3 separate regions of the Homo sapiens genome follow, and regions 2 and 3 are each linked to region 1. The links are contacts of gene promoters, found by promoter capture Hi-C in blood cells and fetal thymus (Javierre and others, 2016). All regions are on one chromosome and are shown on one strand. The core of a region is centred on a gene start or on the middle of the fragment in contact, and the rest is flanking DNA. Distances in the headings are between cores, read along the strand shown. Region 1 holds the start of MYORG (myogenesis regulating glycosidase). Region 2 overlaps DNAI1 (dynein axonemal intermediate chain 1). Region 3 overlaps CNTFR (ciliary neurotrophic factor receptor).

The links. Contacts are between HindIII fragments. The CHiCAGO score rates a contact against its expected background, and 5 or more counts as called.
Region 2: a contact is called between a fragment that was not itself captured here and the fragment with the promoter of MYORG in region 1, in 1 of 17 cell types (endothelial precursors). The highest score is 5.2, in endothelial precursors.
Region 3: a contact is called between a fragment that was not itself captured here and the fragment with the promoter of MYORG in region 1, in 1 of 17 cell types (endothelial precursors). The highest score is 6.9, in endothelial precursors.

What each region holds. Positions count from the first base shown.
Region 1 is chr9:34,374,433-34,378,611 of GRCh38, reverse strand. MYORG (myogenesis regulating glycosidase) reads left to right here and starts at 1,714. Exons shown (of 2, transcript NM_020702.5): 1 at 1,714-1,819. RefSeq lists a silencer at 1,350-1,739 and enhancers at 1,785-2,365, 2,366-2,947. The HindIII fragment of the contact is 6,785 bases long and covers 1-3,258 here.
Region 2 is chr9:34,515,087-34,519,503 of GRCh38, reverse strand. DNAI1 (dynein axonemal intermediate chain 1) reads right to left here. Exons shown (of 20, transcript NM_012144.4): 19 at 2,037-2,219. Among named protein-coding and RNA genes, the nearest start is that of ENHO, 5.7 kb to the left of the region's middle. The HindIII fragment of the contact is 5,796 bases long and covers 33-4,417 here.
Region 3 is chr9:34,579,881-34,584,016 of GRCh38, reverse strand. CNTFR (ciliary neurotrophic factor receptor) reads left to right here. Exons shown (of 10, transcript NM_147164.3): 2 at 2,812-2,922. CNTFR-AS1 (CNTFR antisense RNA 1) reads right to left here. Exons shown (of 2, transcript NR_024369.1): 2 at 945-1,682. Among named protein-coding and RNA genes, the nearest start is that of CNTFR, 7.8 kb to the left of the region's middle. The HindIII fragment of the contact is 1,662 bases long and covers 2,034-3,695 here.

The DNA.
Region 1 (4,179 bases), core at 465-2,964:
CAGGAGTCCCCATCACAGCCTCCCAAAAGCCTCTCTGTGCTCAGACACCCTTGCTGCACAAGGTGTGTCCCCCATTCCAAGTCCAACTGGTCAAAACATAATTTTGGAGGGTCTCATGACAAAGAAATTTCAAGTTGCAAAACAAAGCCCTGTTTCTCTGCCCCTCAGGGAGCGAGAAGGGGCCATTCTAAAATCTCTGTGATCTTCAGTATTTTTATTTCTGCATCAAATAGATATGAAACCAGCTGGGTGCAGAGGCTCACACCTGTAATCTCACCACTTTGGGAGGCAGAGGCAGGAGGATCACTTGAGCCCAGGAATTCGATACCAGCTGGGGCAACATAAAGAGACCCCTTCTCTACAAAAAAATTTAAAAATTAGCAGGGTATGGTGGCACACACATGTGGTCCAAGTTACTCAGGAGCCTGAGGCGGGAGGGGATAGCTTGAACCAAGGACATTGAGGCTGCAGTGAGCTATGTTAACGCCACTGCACTCCAGCCTGGGCGACAGAGCGAGACCCTCTCTCAAAAAAATAAAGACCGGACGCGGTGGCCCACACTTGTAATCCCAGCACTTTGGGAGGCCGAGGCAGGTAGATCACCTGAGGTCAGGAGTTTGAGACCAGCCTGACCAACATGGTGAAACTCTGTCTCTACTAAAAATACAAAATTAGCCAGGCGCGGTGGTGCGTGCCTGTAATCCCAGCTACTTGGGAGGCTGAGGCAGGAGAATTGCTTGAACCCGGGAGGCGGAGTTTGCAGTGAGCTGAGATCGTGCCATTGTACTCCAGCCTGGGCAACAAGAACGAAACTCAAAAATAAATAAATATAAAAATAAAATAAAATAAAAAAGAAATGAAACCTCAGAGTCTTGCCCAGCCCCCGGGGAGAGGGGCATGGCGGGGCACACCCACTTTCCCGCAGCTTGGGCATTTCTAACTAAAGGCTGTAACTTAGGAGGAGGGGCTGGACCCTATAAATAACTAGTCTGGGGGTAGCGGTCTGGGAGGCGGGTGACGTTGCAAAACACCGAGCAGAAACCGGTCTTCTCAGTCCCTGACCTCGGACACCGCTGGTTTGGTCCGGTGGGAACCGACAGCTTGGACTCGCGGCGGGTTGGAACTACAGCTCCCTCCGTGGGGCCCTCGATTGGAAGCACCTGCATTGGGAGCTGAGATACTCGCGGAATTCCGCCACCACTTTTCCGTATGGAAAGCTGAGGGCTTGTGAGAGCGTTATACCGATATGGCCTCCACCTGTCCAAACCGGGAAGGAAGGAATTCCAATGGCCAGCTCTGCTCCTTTACCCTGCAGCTCTCTCCCTCTCATCCTCATTCCAAACCTAGCCTAGAGGTGCAAGAACCCCAACCTTCCGCAGCTGCTCCTTTCTGCAGAACTACATGTCCCAGCAGGCCTGGGGCCGAGCCCCGCCCGCTTGCGGGTTAGCAGTGGCCCAGGAGGGGCGGGCCCGCCGGCGGGAGTCGGAGCCGCGGGGCGCAGGACTGAGCAAGCCTGAAATGCCAGGGGCAGAGCACAGAGCGGTGGGAGGAAGGTGGGGCTGAGGGGCGGGGCCACAGATCCGCCTGATAACCTGGGAGGAGGGGTCGAACGTCAAGGGCAGGGCTGGACTCTGAGGCCCGAGACGAGACTGGATGACTGGGGCGTGGCCGAGGAACCCCAGGGCGGGACCCGAGGAGGGGCTGTGCCCTGCCAGACAGAGCCCCGCGCGGCGCGGCGGCAGCTTCACTCTGGTTCAAGCGCAGGGGATCGGCGGGAAGCTCTTTCACCCCCGCTTCTGCCGGGCTGTAACTGCAATGGGTGAGCCCAGCGGGAGGGCTGTGGGGGGCGGGGGGCTGCTGAAGGAGCACGATTCCTGAACTTTCGCTCCCACCGATGAATGGGTGGAGCGAGCCTGAACACCTGGGCCCATCCCACGGCCGCGATTCCCGCGGGGCGACAGGTCCCTTGACCTCGGTCGGCCCCTTCGGACAGTATAGCCTTCAGGGCGGGGTAGGGAGGGCGGCTGTGGAGTATTCCAGGCTATGTAGGCAGTCACTCGATCCCCGCGGATACCGTCGCCTGGCAGGAGAGGGAGATGGGCCGGATCGAGTTGCCTTTGACATTTCCATCCCCCCGGGAACTGTGTCCAACTAACGATTCTACTTGGAATGGCCTCCCCTCAGTTGAGTCGGGCGGGGCCCTCCCCCTCAGACCAGACTAGCTGTGGCAGCCAAGGCTGAGGTTGAGTGTCCGGTGGGGAGAGGCTCAGCAGGGGCAGAGCCCAGACTCCACCTGGCGGAGGCGGCAGATTACAGAGGTCTCTGGCACCACTGTTAACACCGGAACCACAGACTTCCTCCCCCAAAGCCCCGGTACCAGATGCCATTAAAATTGCCCTCTTTGCTGCCCTCGTGGTCTTCGTGGTCCGCGTGGAGCAAGCAGCAGCACCAGCCCTTGGAAAGACAGGCCTCACCATGCCATGTCCATCTGATGGAAGCTGGTCCCACCAGCTCAGCCCCAGGGCTCCTTTCTGCTACTGCATTCAGGCAGCCAGGTCAGATCATTATCTCCCATCTCCTAAAACTTACACTGTGGAGAGCTGGGCTGGGATTTTAGATCCAGGCAGCCTTGATACCTGGCTAACTTCAGACAAGTTCCTTTTTCTGTTTGGGCCACGTTTCCTCACCTGTAAAATGGACACTGCAGCTATGTCTGCTGTTCCACATTGTTGATAGAACTGGATGCTGTGGTGACATTTGGGACACTATCATGGTGCCTGGGGTGGGTGGGTGCCCAGGCCTGTGGGCTTCTGTCTTTCATCAAAGAACTTCAGATCCCAGAAAATTAAGATTCTCAAAACATAACTGTCGGAAAGGGCTTTTGAATCCACCTTGGTGGCCTCTTCCTGCCTCCAGGGCTCATGAGATAGGCTGACTTCATATGAAAGTTTTGAGGATGAGGAAGTCTCTCTCCTCTTCAGATACTGACCCTCTCTCTCCTTATTTCCTTGGTGCCCAGAATAGGGCTTTGGTTATCTTGAATGAATGAATATAAACTCACAGGTGTGATCTGAGCCACCTAAAGCCTTCTTTGGGTTCTGCTCAGCTTGAGGGCATCACCTAAAGGCCACTGGCTGCATTTTCCAGGAGGTGTTTTCTAAGCTGTATCTATATAGGAATGGGGAGGAAAGCTAAGTCATTGTAGACTGAGAGAAAGGGAATAAGAGTCTGTTCCAGACCAGCTAGGGCTGACAAGCTTAGGCAGCTGGGGGCAGAGGGCACTGAGAATGAGGCCCTGAGCTAGCACCGTGTGGGAAGTGCCTATGGGAGGAGCTGTGTATTGACATTTAGGATCAAATTCTGCTCCACACCTTGCATTCTTGCATGGGGGAGGTGAAAAACCTGAGTATTTCCGGCATCTCCTTGGAAGTCCCTGGGGACTTAGAGACAGACACTGGCATCTGGGAGGAGGCTAATTACTGTTTGCTAGTCTCCTTCTCTTCTTCCCCCGAGCTGGAGCAGTTGGGCAACCAACTGGCTGGCTGTGTGTATGCCCGTGTGTGCACCTGGGTGGTGCTATTTCTTTGTTGGACTCTGCTCTGAAGCCTGGGACAGGAACGGTCAGTGGCCTTGAGTGGCAGAGTAGGACACACCTCTTCCCCTGAGCCTGTGTTTCCCTGTAGTCATATCTGTATTTTTTTTTTTTTTTTGAGATAGGGTCTCACTTTGTCACCTAGGCTGGAGTGCAGTGGCACAATCTTGGCTCACTGCAGCCTTGACCTCCTGGGCTCAAGCGACCCTCCCACCTCAGCCCCCCAAGTAGCTGGGACTACAGGTGCACACCACCATGCCTGGCTAATTTTTTTTTTTTTTTGTATTTTTGGTAGAGACAGGGTTTCAACATGTTGCCCAGGCTGGTCTCAAACTCCTGAGCTCAAGAGATCTGCCCTCCTTGGCCTCCCAAAGTGCTAGGATTACAGGCATGAGCACCGTGCATGGCCTCATATCTGGATATTTAGCATATAGTGTGTCAGAGTTTATGTGTGTTAGTGGTAGTGGTGGGTGTCTGATCCCTGGAGAGCAGGTAGGTGGAGGAGGTGCGCTGGGCCAAGCTAGGTGGGTGAAATCTCCTGAAGCAGGTGGCCTAAAGGATTTAGGTTGGGGAAGGAACGAGCTTGG
Region 2 (4,417 bases), core at 1,681-4,180, 140 kb before region 1:
CTCTCTTCCCTCTCTCCTTCCTAAATTAAGCTTGGGTTCTCTTCTTGGCTTCACCCCATCCCCTGGGAGTTAGGGGACCTGGTTTTAGTTCCAGCTCTGTCATTAACTCCCTATATGACTTTGGGCAAGGCCTTTGCCTTTCTGAGCTTCAGTTTCCCATCTATCCTGTAGTTAGGGAAAGACAGTCTTTGGCCTTGGACTCTTTGGGCTCTTGACACCCATCATGGGAGCTCCCTGGGCAGGGAGGTCCAGACCTCTGTGGGGAAGCCATTTGGAAAGGGCAGGGAGTCTGCAGCTCACAGAGGAAGGGCAGTAGGGATGCCCAGAGGATTTTGTTTTGCATGAATCACTTGGCTGATAGGGTCAGATGGCAATTTCACGGGAACCTCTAATCCACTCAAGTACCCACCAGCCCCCACCTGTCCCTTCTCAGGTCCTCAGAGACGTAGGTCCCCAGATACACACAGCCCAGCTCTCCCAGCCATGACTGACCCTTCTCTGAGGGGAACTGAAACTATGGGAGATGCTTACCTCCCTGGATCAGAGTGGGCAGGGCAGGCTCCCACCCATGTCTGACCCTTCTCTGAGGGGAACTGAAACTATGGGAGATGCTTACCTCCCTGGATCAGAGTGGGCAGGGCAGGCTCCCACCCATGTCTGACCCTTCTCTGAGGGGAACTGAAACTATGGGAGATGCTTACCTCCCTGGATCAGAGTGGGCAGGGCAGGCTCCCACCCATGTCTACCACCCTCATGGTGTCATGGCTGTACTCCTCCCCCAAAGAATGACCATCATCCCTCCTGGAGGGTTGTCCAACTCTGCCAGCTTCAACCTGGGTCTCTCTCCTCAGAAAATTAAGAACACATTTTATCTATTCCACAAATTATGCTTCCTCCTTCCTCCTCCTTGAGGCCAACTAGCTGGGCTCAGCAAAGAGATTCAGACCACGCCCGACTCCCTCCCTCCCCTCAAGCCCACCACAGCCTCTGGGCCACAGCTGCAGGCGCTTAGCAGCCTTTTGAGTATTTATAGCCAAGTCCACCCTCTCCCCCAGCTGGCTACAATTACAGGGCCAGCCACACTCCCAGCCCTTGCCTCCCTGGCCATGGTGGGGAACAGGCCAAGCCAGCACCAGAGGGATGGTGCCGCAGTCCCTTCCTTGGTAGGAGCACAGTGCAGGGAAGACAGTAGTCGAAAGACACAGGCCCCTGCCACTGCCTCAAACTGCAGTAAATGCCTCAAATTGCCAGGAGGGATGGTCATTAGGGCAAGCTGGCCCAGTCCTGATCCTGGCCCAGAACCTGGCAGAAAGCAAAGAGCCATCTCTACTCTTAGCACACAAATGGGCAGGACTGGGCTCTGGGTTCTTGGGCTCAGGATTCCAAGGCCCGGGCTGCAAAGCCTGGGTTCATAAGTCTGGATCTGGACTCAGATCTAGACTTTAAGGTCATCGCTCTGGGCTCCAGACCTGTATTTGGGGCCCTTGGCCTCTGGGCAGGGTCTCCTGATCATTGGAGACCCTAGAAACAGGAACCAGAGCTCAGAAGGAGGGCTGCATAGCTGCTGACCTAGTTACTCTCCTTGCGGCTCATTTCCTTCCTCTCTGTGTAGACCCACAGCTCCCAGCTCAGGGACCACTGGGGCTGAAGCCCTGTGAAAGCCCAGTCAATGAGGCAGTGGCTCAGCCCCAGGCCCCCTGCCTGGGTGACCTGTCCTACCCACAGCATTTCCACTGGGAAGAAATCAATGATACCTCCACATTTGCCTCTGCAGGCTTCAGATCCACCTGCTCATTGGATGTCTCCACCTGGGAAAGTCACCTGGGGCCCCACAGGTAACTCAAATGCAGCATGTCAAACTGCTGTTTTCTCACAAACCTGCTTCTACTGTGAGCCTCATTCAGGCAATGACACCATCCTTACCCTGGGTCTCCCACATCAGAAACTGGGTGGTCACCCTGGCTTCTCCCTTCTGTCATCCCCACCCTCCTGGAGACTTTACGTCTTGCAGCAGCTCAAAGTCCCAGAGCCTGTACCTTTGGCATCTTGCGCAAATTGGGTGAGAGCTTGAGGCTGATGATGTGCCCACGGTCATCGCCCACAATGATGATGGGGTGGATGAGATTGAACTGCACGTGGGTGAGCCTGTTCTTTTTGGCCGCCACAGGCTGGTTGCAGATGGCCTCATACTTGTTGATGGCTAAGTCAAATATGTGGGCCTGTGGAGAGGTCGGTGTCAGCACACTCAGGGGTAATGAGGCCTGTCTTCCACCTCAGAGGAATGAGTCCCTGGACTTCCTGGGGAAAGACTGTAGAAGGCTAATGGCTAGCACACTGGAGCTGGAGGTGGAGGGAGGGGGAATTTTGTGTCTCTGTGTTTTTCCTATGGTTGAAAGAGTGAGAATTAAAAAGTTTAGGAGAAATTTTAAATCTATGGAGAATTAATAATAGCAGCTATAGGCTGGGCGTGGTGGCTCACTGACGCCTGTAATCCCAGCACTTTGGGAGGCCAAGGTGGGTGAATCACTTGAGGTCAGGAGTTTGAGACCAGGCTGGCCAACATGGTGAAACCCTGTCTCTACCAAAAATACAAAAAATTAGATGGGCGTGGTGGTGCATGCCTGTAGTCCCAGCTACTAGGGAGGCTGAGATGGGAGAATCACTTGAACCTGGGAGGCGGAGGTTACAGTGAGCCAAGATGGAGCCACTGTACTCCAGCCTGGGCAAGAGTGAGATCTTGTCTCAAAAAAAAAAAAAAAGAAAAGAAAAGAAAATAGCAGCTACCATTTGTTGAGCACTCACTATGTACTAGACTCTGGGCAAGCACATCATACGGTTGCATCACCTCATTATGCTCTTCACAACCACTCTGTAAGGTGGTTCTGTCATTATCTTTATTTTATAACGGAGGAGTTAGAGGCTCTTAGAGGCTAACCTGCTAGTAAGTGGCAGAGCCAGGGCTTACACCAGTTAATATATGTAAAGTGCAAGGACAGTGCTTGACATACCAGTGCTCATTCCATGTTGGATGCTACCTTCACCACACCCTCAGACCAAACCACTACCAACTCTCACCTGGACAACTGTGGCAGCCTCTTAACTGGTCTCCCCGCTTCCACTCTTGCCTTGTTACAATCCATCCTCCATATGGCAGTAGGCTTACCTTTAAAGCACTTAAAATCCTCCCACAGTCTCCCTTGGCACTATAAATAAAATCCAGATCCCACACTCTAGCCCACCTCCCCACTCTCACCTCATGTTCTCGCCCCTTGCTTACTCTACCCCAACCACACTTGCCTTCCTGTTCCTTAAACCCCAAGCTGGTTCCCACCTCAGGGCATCTGCCCCAGCTGCTCCCTCACCATGGGCTGCTCCCCTGCCCTATCTCCACATGGCTGCCTCCTTCTTGCCAGTCAACTCTCAGCGTGCGTGTCACCTCTTCAAAGAAGCCTTTCCTGACCACTGTATCCAACAGACCACCCAGTCCTTTTATTTTTTCTTTTTCTTTTTTTCTTTTTCATTGCCTGGCCTTTGTGAACCTATCTTTCTTCTTTTAATGTAACAACTTTATTGAGATATAATTCATATACTATAAAATTCACTCATTTAAAGCATCAAATTCTTGGTGTTAGTATATTCACAGTTATGCAACCTTCTCTACAACCGATTTTAGAACATTTTCACCACCCTAGGCCACACAAATTGACTTTCCATCTCTACAAATTTGCCTGTTTTGGATGTATTATAGAAGTGGAATTATACAGTATGTGGTCTTTTGTGACTGGCTTTTTACGCTAAGCATGTTGTCAAGGTTCCTCCATGTTGTAGCATGTATCAGCACATCATTCCTTGTCCTTGCTGACATAATCCCCAAGGAGAGACTATATTTTGTTTATCTATTCAGCAGTTGATGGACACTGGGTTGTTGCCACTCTGACTGTTATGAGTAATGCTGCCATGAACATTTATGTTTACATATCACAGTCTTTTATTAATAATTCTCTGCCTAGAACACTGGGAATTTTGTTGTTGCTTTTTGTATCTTTCCCTTCACTAGAACATAAGCTCCACAAGAGCAGGTATCTAAGCCACCAGGGTCCAGCCTAGAGCTGGGCACCATCGTTGGCCCTTAGTAGTTATCTGTTCCAGGAAGAGATGACTGACGGACTTTAGAATGGTGCCTTCATCGCTGCATTCTTTCCTTGGGGCAGCCAGTGCTTCTCAGTTTATATCAAAGTCCATAGGGAAAATGGGTTTGCATTCAAGAATATGCTCACAAGATGTTTGTTTCTGAGCTCTCACCAATTCTCAGTGTTGAATAGCCCCCTCCCATTCCACCCCACTGAAGTTCCCTCAGAATCAGCTTGCACACTCCCGGGGATGGAGACTTCACTACATTATAGACACTATTCAGTCA
Region 3 (4,136 bases), core at 1,615-4,114, 200 kb before region 1:
TGAGGGGCTTAAGACTCCCTTTTATAGCCTCCCCCAACTTCTAAATCCCAGGTCTTTGCGTAGCCCCTCTCTCCAGAAGGGAGCTGCACAGTGGTTCCAAAAAGGCAGAGGAGCCCAGAGTCAGAGGGAAGATGCCATGTGACCTCGGCCCATGAGCTGACCCTTGTGGGCCCCTCCGTGAAATTGCGGGATGGGGGGCTGGGCCCTGGCCCAGGCCCGGAGAGAAGGCGGTTTTGGCACCCATCCAGGCCCCTGACGTCAATGACTTTCCAAATAATGGAATCAATATTGGGGGCTGGGGGCAAGCGTGAACCAGGCCCCAACGATTAGAAACAGATCAGCACAACCCCGCAGCTGATTCTGATAGAGCTGCCTTGGCGAGCTTGGGTGGGAGGCCTGGAAGGAGGTGGACTTGTGGGGGTGGGGTTGGGGGGTGCTCAGGAATTGGCAGGCGGAGCCACCTGGTGTCCAGAGCTTGAGGGTATACAAGTGGGCAGAGATTCGGGCTGTCTGGGATTGGAATGATGGGGTGAGGACCCCTGTCCTGGTGCCTTCCTCCTGTGAGCCTACAGGGTTCTGAGGCTAGGTAAAGTTTGTGGATGGAGACTTAGCCAGCTAGCGATAAAGAGTGGGCAAGGGGATTTCATCTCTCTGCATCCCAGATGTGGGCCCCTAGGCCATATTAGGGGTCACAGGTTATACCCATGCAGTGGAAAAGTTCTGAGTGAGACCTAAGTAAGACGACTTTTTGCTTGGAAGCAAAGGGCATTAATCCAAGATAGGGAGATGGGTATCCCTCCTCAAATTGGGAGTATGGCCTCCTCCACCAGCTCACATTCTCTCAGCCTCCTAGAGGACAGCAGGTGAGGATGGAGGGGACCATAGGGTTTATGGGGGGCTGGTCTGGCAGCAGCTGACAAAAAACAGGAAGAAGGGCTGGGGGAGCGGCTGTAATTATGGGGCATTTATTATTAATCAGATGAAATTGCTGGAAGCAGCTGGTGTAATGTGCGTAGCTATACAGACTCTGCATGCTCCCCCCACAATACGCACACACACATACGCACACCACACACAGCCTGAGCCTTGCTTGCTTTCACAGTCTGTTTCTTGTGAAGGTCAGATGGGTCTATATGTGTCTGTCTGCATACTGGAGTGTATCTGTCGGTGTTTTTTCATGTCAGCCTGTACCCTCCTCTACTCCTATTGTCTCCTTTTCCAGCTATCTCTCTCATTCTTTGGCCTAATGTGTCCCTCTCTGTCTCTGGCTTCCCCTCAGTCTTCCTCCCTTTGAGCCTGTCTTGGTGTGGCTGTATCTGTCACTATCAACCACCTGTCTCTAACATCTTATTTTAGTTTCTGGCTATCTCTCCCTGGGTGGTGGTGTCTCTGCATCTCTGGGCAGGATTGGAAGACATGGAATCCCTTTCTCATGGTATGTGTTTAGGCACCTAATCATACCTTTGGCAGATATATCTGGGACCTGTTTTCAAGGGAGCAGTTGGACCCTGAGGATCTCCTGGGGTCTTATAGAAGGTGAGGGGTCTTTTGAATGGCTAGAGTCCATAGAAGCAACAGTGGCTTTCAAGATATCCCTGAGTTCAAGGCCAGCTCCTTTACCAACTACCAGTTGTATGACTTTGGCCAAGCTGCTTCTGCTCTCTGAGCCTCAGTTTCAGGATCTGTAAAACAGAAACAGGATTACCTCCAAAGCTTGTGTTTTTTTTTTTTTTTTTTTTTGCCATAGGGTTTCACTTGGTCACCCAGGCTGGAGAGTGCAGTGGCTCAATCTTGGCTCAGTGCAACCTTCGCCTCCCACGCTCAAGTGACCCTCCCACCTCAGCCTCAGGAGTAGCTGGAACCACAGGCACATGCCACCACGCCTGGCTAATTTTTTGTATTTTTGGTAGAGATGGGGTTTCACTATGTTGCCCAGGCTAGTCTGGAACTCCTAAGCTCAGGTGATCCACCTGCTTCAGCCTCCCAAAGTGCTGGGATTACAGGTGTGAGCCACCATGCCTGGCCTTGAAGCTTGTTTTGATGATTCAGTACCAAAATGTAAATTAAGTACTTATCACAGTGTCTGGGTAACCAAGGACCCTGAACAAGTGATACCTGCTGTTATTATTCTTGGGAAAGACATTGTGCAGGTGGGTGAGAGACCTGCACAGGCAAATTGGTATAGCAGCAAGGTTTTGGAACTAGATACGGACTCAAATCTAGACTCTGGAACTGATCAGCTCTGTGGTATTGGGCAAGGCCTCCTTGAAGCTCAATCTCCTTGGTTATCAAATGTGAAGAACAATAAAACCTACCTCATGGAGAAATCATGAAGATTAAGTAAGATAATGCATATAAAGTGCCAAACACAGTTCCTGGCATATAATAGATGCTCAATAAATCATAGTGGTGATAAGGAAGGGGGTGTTACGATGGTGGTTATTTACACCGTGCCTGTGACCCTGTGCCTCTAGGATTGTGCATGTGAGGATGCATGTGATATGGAGGTGCCTGTGTGTCTGCAAACTGATTGTATAAGAATTGTGGATTGTCTGTGGGTGTGTATCTGTGTATTGTATCAGGCCACTGCCTTCTGGCAACCTTTGTCCCTGTGGTTCAGAACCTGAAGTCAGCAAGGGGTGCTGGGAGGGGTCTGTATTACTCTCAACTTTTCTTCTTCCAGACGTTTAGCTGCTGCCTGCCTCAGTCTCCCCTTCTCACAGTGGGGCTGTGAGTATGGAATGGCCTCTGAGTTGGACTAAGGCCTGTGGCTCCTCTGTGACCTCTGATTTGTGCCCTTTGCCCTTCTAGACTCTAGCCTTGTCACCTCATCTTGCCCCCTTGGTTTTGGAAGTCCTGAAGAGTTGGTCTGGAGGAGGAGGAGGACATTGATGTGCTTGGTGTGTGGCCAGTGGTGAAGAGGTAGGTGCTGGGGCCCACGTGGGGCAGATCAATCTCAGGGAATCAGGCAGGTGTAGTGGGGCTGTACGTCTAGGGGACATGAGTGGAGGAGGACCTGAGATTCCTTCCTCTCTTCCCCTGTCCTTTCTTTTTCCAGAGGTTTTGGGCTCAGCCTGGCTGAGGCTTTTCATGCTCTCAAATAGAAAGGGAAGAGACTTACCTGTGGTCACACAGGCAAGGGCAACACCAGGTTAGGAAACTGGGTTCTATACTAAGGGGGTGCTGAGTCCCAGATATGGGAGTATGTTTCTGTTTCAGTATCCTCAGATTTCCTCTCTGCCCCCCAGACATCTCTCTTATTTGATTGGAGGAGCAGCTAGGCTTTAAAAAGATGGGATGGCAGGTCAGAAAGTCCAGAATCTTCTGAGGCCAGCTGTGGGGCCGAGCCTGACTCTCCCTGTCTCTCATTCAGGCCAGGCAAGGCCCCTGGATTGGCAGCTTGGGGGTGGGGGCATCCAAGGCATCGAGGCACTGGAGCGGAACGGAAGGGCCTATTGTCCAAAACCCGCCAGAGGCCCACAAAGGCCGGCCGGGCTTTTCATCTCAGCTCCCAAACAGACTGGCCATTTTCCCGGCTGGGGGCTGAGGGGGGACTAACCCTTCACAACTAGGACCAGGTTGTTGTTGAGGGTGGAGTGGGGTACCCCAGGCTGACACATAAAAGGGGCTTAAGATGGAGCTGGGGCCCAGGAGAGGAGGAAGGGAGGCCTGAGAAGGCTGTAGAGAGTTAAGCTTTTCACCCCACTGTTCCCAGAGGACCCAAGGACATGGGGTGTGTATCTGATAGAAGTTCAGACTAGGATGGGGCTAGGAGATGGATTTACAGAATAAAAGATAATATTTATGGGGGGTACCTTGGGAGGAGTCTGATGGCTTATTTGGAAAGTGTGCTACTGGGCTGAGAGGGCACGTAATCCTCCGCAAACTGGGAACACCTTAGGGAGCCGGGACAGGAGCTGGAGAAGAGAAGGATAGTGGTCGGGGAAAGAATGGGCTCCCTGCAGCAAGAAGAACTGAGGCCAGACAGCAGGAAGGACTTCCTGCCAGTGAACAGTAGCTCAGATGCCCTGACCCTCTTCCTGGGGATCTCAGAGGATTGCCTCAGCGAGCAGGGGAGCTGGAGAACACCCCAGGGGCTCAGGCTGAGGCAGCTTCTGTGGGGGCCAAGGAGGAGG